Regions from separate parts of the Homo sapiens genome. Here region 2 is linked to region 1. The links are contacts of gene promoters, found by promoter capture Hi-C in blood cells and fetal thymus (Javierre and others, 2016). All regions are on one chromosome and are shown on one strand. The core of a region is centred on a gene start or on the middle of the fragment in contact, and the rest is flanking DNA. Distances in the headings are between cores, read along the strand shown.

What was found. Contacts are between HindIII fragments. The CHiCAGO score rates a contact against its expected background, and 5 or more counts as called.
Region 2: a contact is called between the fragment with the promoter of STAG1 here and the fragment with the promoter of DBR1 in region 1, in 1 of 17 cell types (total B cells). The highest score is 5.6, in total B cells.

What each region holds. Positions count from the first base shown.
Region 1 is chr3:138,172,131-138,176,374 of GRCh38, reverse strand. DBR1 (debranching RNA lariats 1) reads left to right here and starts at 1,454. Exons shown (of 8, transcript NM_016216.4): 1 at 1,454-1,776; 2 at 2,749-2,873. The coding sequence starts at 1,580. RefSeq lists an enhancer at 1,539-1,748. The HindIII fragment of the contact is 14,113 bases long and covers 1-4,244 here.
Region 2 is chr3:136,750,559-136,754,326 of GRCh38, reverse strand. STAG1 (STAG1 cohesin complex component) reads left to right here and starts at 1,949. Exons shown (of 34, transcript NM_005862.3): 1 at 1,949-2,132. It overlaps STAG1-DT (STAG1 divergent transcript), which reads right to left and starts at 1,656. Exons shown (of 1, transcript NR_185911.1): 1 at 1-1,656. RefSeq lists enhancers at 641-1,572, 1,366-1,685, 1,573-2,504 and silencers at 1,696-1,925, 2,246-2,625. The HindIII fragment of the contact is 7,208 bases long and covers 611-3,768 here.

The DNA of each region.
Region 1 (4,244 bases), core at 205-2,704:
AAAACAGTAAATAGCAAAGAAAAAGACACATTACTGGCTGGGCGCGGTGGCTAACGCCTGTAATCCTAGCACTTCGGGAAGCCGAGGTGGGCGTATCACTTGAGGTCAGGAGTTCGAAACCAGCTTGGCCACCATGGTGAAACCCTGTCTCTACTAAAAATGCAAAAAATTAGCTGGGCATGGTGGTGTGCACCTGTAATCCCAGCTACTTGGGAGGCTGAGGCAGGAGAATCGCTTGAACTGGGGAGGCGGAGGTTGCAGTGAGCCGAGATCGTGCCACTGCCTCCAGCCTGGGCAACAGAGTGAGAGACCGTCTCAAAAAAACAAAAAACAAACAAACAAACAAAAAACCCACATTACTTTCAGTGAAAAAAAACCTTAAGTTTATAGGTGACTTCTCAGTAGAAGATAATGCAAGCCAGAAGATAATAGAATGCTATTTTTGAAATGCTTTGTAAAAAAAAAACCACACACACACACACACACACACACACACACACACACTGCTTAACTGGTATTCGGTACTCAGTAAACACACCCTTTATGAATTAAGGTGAAACAAAGACATCTCTTTCTTTCTTTTTCTTTTTTTTTTTTTTAGACGGAGTCTCACCCTGTCACCCAGGCTGGAGTGCAATGGCACGATCTCAGATCACTGCAACCTCTGCCTCCTGGGTTCAAGCGATTCTCCTGCCCCAGCCTCCCAAGTAGCTGGGATTACAGGTGTGCGCCACCACGCCCAGCTAATTTTTTGTATCTTTAGTAGAGACAGGGTTTCACCATGTTGGCCATGCTGGTCTCAAACTCCTGACCTCGTGAGCCGCCCGCCTCTGCCTCCCAAAGTGCTGGGATTACAGGTGTGAGCCAGCACACTGGCTTCTTTTCTTTTCTTCTCTCTCTCTTTCTCTTTTGTCTCTTTTTTTTTTTTTTAGACGGAGTCTCGCTCTGTCGCCCAAGCTGGAGTGCAGGGGCGCGATCTCAGGTCACTGCAACCTCCGTCTCCTGGGTTTGAGGGATTCTCCTGCCTCAGCCTCTGAAGTAGCTGTGATTACAGACGTGCGCTACTGCGCCCAGCTAATTTTTGTATTTTTAGTAGAGACAGGGTTTCACCATTTTCCCCAGAGTGGAAAGAAATTTTTAAACAAACAAATATCTAGAAAAAAATTAATCTGTCGTCGGCCTACACTAAACAAACAGGAAAACTTAAACTGAGCTCTTCAGACAGAAGAAAAATGATTCCAAAGAGAAAAATGGAAATCCAGGAAGAAAAGAGTAAGGATGGAAAGAGTACATTTGTGGATGTATATACAAAAAAATATTGACTGCATAAAACAATAATTAAAAAAAAAGAAAAAAGGAAAAAAAGAAAATAAGTTCCCTGGGATCCCAGAATTAGGTTTGACCTTCCCGGTCCCTCTCTCGCGAGATCTGGAAACCGGAAGTGAATTATTTTGCAGGAGTCTACACCCAGGCGGTGGCTATACTTATTAAAGTTGGCGGGAGCTGAGCGATCAGTCGGTCCTGGGCTGGCTGTGGTGTAGGGCGTTGCAGGCAGCGCTCACCTCCTCAGGCCGGCAGAATGCGGGTGGCTGTGGCTGGCTGCTGCCACGGCGAGCTGGATAAGATCTATGAGACGCTGGCGCTGGCAGAGCGGCGCGGCCCGGGGCCTGTCGACCTCTTGCTGTGCTGCGGCGACTTCCAGGCGGTGCGCAACGAGGCGGATCTACGCTGCATGGCCGTGCCGCCCAAGTATCGTCACATGCAAACCTTCTACAGGTGAGGACGCGGCCGGGCCCGGACTTGGCGGTGGGGGGGTGGGACTGGGTTCCCTCTGCCACTGGCTGCCTGTTTCCCTTAGATCCTGTCTTTGTTCTCTCTGTATCTCTAATTGGTGCCTAACTGAATACAGGGGTGAGGTAGTGGGAGGCGGGAAATGTATTCAGTTCGGTACTGTATTCAGTTAGGTACCAAATTATGTCAGTTTCACTAGCACCCTATCTCATTAGGTGCTTAGGAAATGTCACTTTCCTTCTTTCCATACACATCTTATCCATTTCAAAGGGTGTCGAAGCCTGGGAGGGGATAACCTGGAGGAAGAAGCTGACAGGTTTAGATAGCTACCTTGTACTTGATAGGACTCTGGAATTAGTTCATTCAATGATCCTGAAGTTTTTACTGGGCCCCTGCTATGTGCTTGTTGTGGTTCTAGAAGATGAGGTTATGGCAATGAACTCGAAACAGTTCTTGACTTAATTGAACGGGCACTGACTTGAGGCTCAAGGTGGAAGCTCTTCATTCCTAAGGGCAAGGATGGATACTGGGCAATTCCTTTTTTTTTTTTTTTTTTTTTTCTTGAGACAGAGTTTCGCTTTGTTGCCCAGGCTGGAGTGCAGTACCGCGATATTGACCCACTGCAACCTCCGTCTCCTGGGTTCAAGCGATTCTCCCACCTCAGCCTCCCGAGTAGCTGGGATTACACCCAGCTAATTTTTGCATTTTTAGTAGAGACGGGGTTTCACCACATTGGCCAGGTTGGTCTCGAACTCCTGACCTCAGGGGATCCGCCTGTGTCGGCCATCAAAAGTGCTGGGATTACAGGAGGGAGCCACCGCGCCCAGCCCCAGGCAATTCCTTTTGAAAGAGCTTTTTAACTTTTTATGATGAACTCAGTTTCTTTTTTTTTTTCGGAACTTATTTGCTTTTCTGCTATGCCTAATTGTGGTAACTGACTTTGCTCTTATGTTCTAGGTATTACTCTGGAGAGAAAAAGGCTCCAGTTCTCACGCTCTTCATTGGGGGAAACCATGAAGCCTCAAATCATTTGCAAGAGTTACCCTATGGTGGCTGGGTGGCACCAAACATTTATTATTTAGGTATGTGATTGTGTTTGTGGATACTTTTTTTTCCTGGGATGGAAGAGCTTATCAGGATTTGCGTTAGTTGGACTGTGTCTTGACATGTATGGTGTTTGGAGAATGTCATTAATTTAAATACTTAATCGTGAAAATTTAATTAAGATAGTTAATTATTAAATGGTTGATCATGAAAATATGCCCTTCATCTAGTGTTTTAAGCACTAGCTAATATAATTGCAAAGACCTCACACACTATTTGTAGTCCCTTCATTTTTTCTTACAATTTTTATTGAATTAAAGACCTTAAACTTTTATTAATAGAAATTCTTAAGCATACACAAAAGTAGAGAATAGTATGATGAATCTCAGTACCTGTTAACCAGCTTCAACGACTATTATATTGCAATCTCCTGGATTTTTTTTTTTTTTTTTGTGGGAAGAGATGACTAGAGTATTTAAAGCAAGTCCAACCGTTAGATTATTTCACTTATACATATTTCAGTACATGTTTTTAAGTGATAAGGATCTTTAAAAATACTACTACAGTACTGTTATTATACTTAACTGAAGTAATCATTATCTATTGCCATGTTCGTGGTCAGATTTCCCTGCTTAATGTAAAGATGTCTGCTTTACAATTGGTTTAAATAGGACCCAGACAAGGCCAGCCCATTTCATTTGGTTGTCATGACTCTGAAGTCTATTAGACTAAAATAGTCTCCCTGTCTCGCTTTTTCATGCCATTTACTTGCTGAAGAAAACAGGAAATTTGTCTTGCAGCATTTCCTGCATTCAGGATTTAGCTGATTGGATTCCTTTTATCCTTTGCATTTCCTATAATCTGCTTTTAGATTTTCAGATTTGATTAGATTGTCTCAATATTGGCCCCTATAAACTATATAGCCTTTTCATCCCTTTATTTTTCGAGACAAGGTCTGGTTCTGTTGCCCAGGCTGGAGTGCAGTGGCCTGATCTCAGCTCATTGCAACCTTCGCCTTCCAGGCTCAAGCCATCCTCCCACCACAGCCTCCCAAGTAGCTGTGACTGCAAGCGTGTACCACCACGCCCGGCTAATTTTTTTGTTTTTTTGTATTTTTTTGTGGAGACTGAGTTTGGCCATGTTGTCCAGGCTGGTCTCGAACTCATGAGCTCAAAGTGATCCGCCCACCTGGGCCTCCAAAGTGGTGGGATTACAGGGATGAGCCACCGCACCCAGCTTCATCCCTTTATTTAAATGTATATTCTTTCTAGAACAGTTTATAGATTTTACCAATGATGAGATCATATTTCAGAAATTTAGTTTCCCTACTTTGCTACTTACTGATCATCTTTTGATGTATTCATCCTATATTACAATATTGTGAAGAAGTGAAATTGTCAGAAGATGAT
Region 2 (3,768 bases), core at 700-3,199, 1.4 Mb after region 1:
TGAGACAGAGTCTCACTCTTATCGCCCAAGCTGGAGTGCAGTGGCGTGATCTCGGCTCACTGCAACCTTCACCTCCCGGGTTCGAGAGATTCTCCTGCCTCAGCCTCCCGAGTAGCTGGCATTACAGGCGCACACCAGCACGCCTGGCTGTTTGTATTTTTAGTAGAGACAGGGTTTCACCATGTTGGCCAGGGTAGTCTCGAACTCCTGACCTCATGTTATCTGCCCGCCTCTGCCTCACAACGTGCTGGTATTACAGGTGTGAGCCACCGCACCCAGCCAAGACAACAGAAACTTCTGAGAAACAGAAAGGAAGAAGACAGTGGATAAGAACATATTTACATTATAAGGCGCTAGGAAAGTAGTGGTGGAAGGAGAAGGTGGGAAGGGATGGCATAGTTTCAGGCAGAGGGAGTGGCTTTGGAGAGAAGGGTTCTGGGTTAATTTGGTTAGAAGTTTTGGGATCACGAACAGGAGGTGGTCACAGATATTTTATAATGGAGGCAAGGTCAAACCGGAATTGGAGTCCCATAGCTCTGAGCCCAGGAAACTGGATGAATTTATCTATTAGTATGGACTGGGACTGGCATCTTTAACAACATGGAAAGCTTGAAACAGTCTTTGTGGAAAATAGGAGATCAGCCAGAGATTAGAAGAAAACGCAAGAAAATTATAAGTAGGAGTCCAGTCACGAATTCATATCCAATCTGGTCAGTTATGACTTCCTCCAGCGAAAAGCCACACATCTTGCAAACCCTTGAGAGAGAAAACACAAATAGGGGTAACCTACTGGAGACAGGCCCTTAAGACTATAAAGTAGTTGAGCGATTCCATACTGAAATAGAGTTGGCTATAGCGATAGAGAAGTTAGTCATATATGGGGCTAATGATCCAGGAGAGTAAGGATTCACTTTTGTGGTGAAAAGTTGTAAGCAGGTGAAAGGTAGGGATCCATGGCCACGGACGGGCAGGTGGAGATCAGGGAAGAGGCGACGTTAAACATAAATAGTTTGTTAATGATTTCACCTTACTGATTATTTCTCTTTTGGCATCTAGAAGGCTAAGATTCTCATGTGTATTTCAGAGCTACTGAAAGTAGTCCTAGGTTGTGGAGGGAGAAATCCACTTTCACAGCTGAGTCTATCTTCTCAGTCTAGTTATATTCTCCTCTCACAAACTAGCCAATGCTGCCGCCTTATGCAAAGCCGACACCACGGAAAGATGTGCTTTACAGAGGCAGGATGACGCCAATCGGCCTAGGGCCGGCGGTGTTTCGTCTAGATTAATGGCGAGGGAAGTCCCCAATAGTCCTTTTGAAACCTTTTCACTCTTGCCTGGTGAAAGCGCTTGTCAGCCGTAAATCGCGAATACAATGCTAAGCTCTGAGGCCCTTGCTAAATCCAAGTAGGAGCAGGGATCTGCGCGGCCTCACCCTCGGGTTTCCGCAGGGCGTCTCGAGAGCTGCGGATGGGGGCAGCAGGAGCCGGGCGGGAACAGAGGAAAGCGCCGGCCCTGAGACCTAGGGAGGAGCCTCGGTGAAGGAACCCGGGGCGGGTTCCTGCCTAGATCTCCAAGAAGCTCCAAAAATGGCGGGCGGCAACTCGGCGAGCCGGACGCGCAGGCGCCACCGTGGCCGTCCTTCCGCCAGCCGCGGGCGGCCCAAGAACCGTCCACAGCGCCCTTATCCAGAAGCCTACGCCTCTCGCGATTGGCTGAACTGCGCGAGCGCTCCGTGTGGGGGCGGGGCCGCCACGCAGCGGCCACGTTTCCCGCCCCGCTGGTGCGCGTGCGCGCAATCCCCACTGGAAAGCGTTTGCGCGCGCCCCTGCCGCGGCCCCTAGCTCGCGCCTCAGCTCCCTCCCCTTTCCGGGCAGGCCCGTCCCGTCAGCAAGGCAGTGAGCACCGCGGCCAGCAGAGGGCGGTCCGGACCCAAGTCTGCAGCGGCGCCATTGGCGTGTGGAAAATGCCACCAGATGGCGGGTTAGGATTGCAGCTCCGTTGAAGGCGCGGCCCCCGCTCCCGAACCCCCGGCGACCACCCCGTAACAACCCCCCCACATCGGGAATAACACACCGGAGACTTTTGGGGGGAAACTAGGTCGATGGTCGGCGGCGCCCGGATGGGCAGCTGAGGTGAGTGCGGGCGGCGGCGACGGCGGCGGGGGGCGGGAAAGAGGGGGAATGCGGCGGCAGCGGCGCGGGGGCTGGAAGCGCCGATCCAAGATGGAGGCCGGGCGAGAGCGAGAGAGCGCGAGCGGCGAGCGGGCGGGCCGGGCGCGGGCCCCGTGCGGGGGAGGGAGGCCGCGCGGGCCTGTGCGGGGTGCGGCGGTCGTGGGCCGTCCGAGTGCCCGGAGAGACGTCTGTGGGCGCGGTGGGCACCCCGGCGTCTTCGTCGCTTGCCACCCCTCCCGCGGGCACCAAAAATTTTGCCCCCGCCCGCCCGGGCACTACGGCGACAGGCGCGGAAGCCTTTGTGGCGCGCTCGGGCCCGCCGCCAAGCCCGCCCTCCGCCCCCCCCCGCCCGGGCTCTCGGGAGTCGCCCGCGCCCAGCGGGGCCGGGCCGACGCGGGCTGGCGCGAATGCCTTCCGCCGCCTGCCGACCTGCGTTTCTGCGGTGTTTTAGCGGCGGCGGCGTCACATGACAACGAGTTCATTTCAGCGGAGGGGCCTGGGGGGTCGCTCGGCGGGGCGGCTGGCCCAGGCTTCTTGTTGGCGGGGTGGGGCAGCGGGGTGGCGGCTGGGGGAGATGCATCAATGCTGGGCTTTCCAGCTATCTGCCCTCTCAGCCCCCGACGGGGGCCTCCTTGTGAAACGTGTCCAGGCCTAAGCACTGCCCCGCTAGTTTGCCAGTCCCCTGAGAGACGAGGCCAATAAAAGTTGTTTTCCCTCCTTTCTCGAGGTGGGGGCGGGGTGGGAAACTAGAGTGCTTGGAGTTGGACCTGAGCCCCGTTTGCAGGGTCCGAACTGGGTTCTTCTTGTATGGTATGGGTACTAAGAAATTTTCAGGTTTTAGGATTGTCACGTCACCCCCATCTACCCACATTTGAAATGTTATCTGTCGATTCTCTTCACATTGCAGGGAATCGTGCTCCGGGAGTATAAGTCATAGGATAGTTTTGGACACTTACAGACAAAAAAAAAACAAAAAAAAAAAACGCAATTTGTCATAAAAAAAAATTATTTGCTGTTAAAGTTGGTGTTAAGATGGATAGAGTTTATTCTCGTGATTCTGACTAGAAAGACTTGCATCTTCGCAAAAATAGTGTTTACTTGAGAAAGTATCTGAATTGGCACAAAGTTGTGTGATTTGTAACTTATCTGGAATTTGAATGACTCTACATTTTAGTTTTCCTCGTGTTTTAAGAAAATTGCACATTCCGATGGTGAAGCACTTAGGGAAATATACAGAAGAGTGAAAATAAAAATAACTTGTTTATTGTATGGTAATGTAACGTACCTTGTTCTAATATTCATAATGTATGAGGAATTCAGACTGAAAAATTTTAACCAAGTAGGGAAATATGGAATGGAAAGAAGCAGAAATGTTATTTCCTTGCTTTTGATGATTAAGAATACTTATAAGACAAATTGTTACCCAAATAAAGTTGTAGAAGATCTACAGGTGTTTTGCCACGCATTTTCCTTTACATATTTAAAACGTACTTCGAGTAAACTAAATTAATTCAAGTGATCTACCAGTGGTCATTTTCACAAACGAACTGCTTTTGAGTGGAAATTTTTCTGTATCCACTTCAGTTTCGATGTTCTG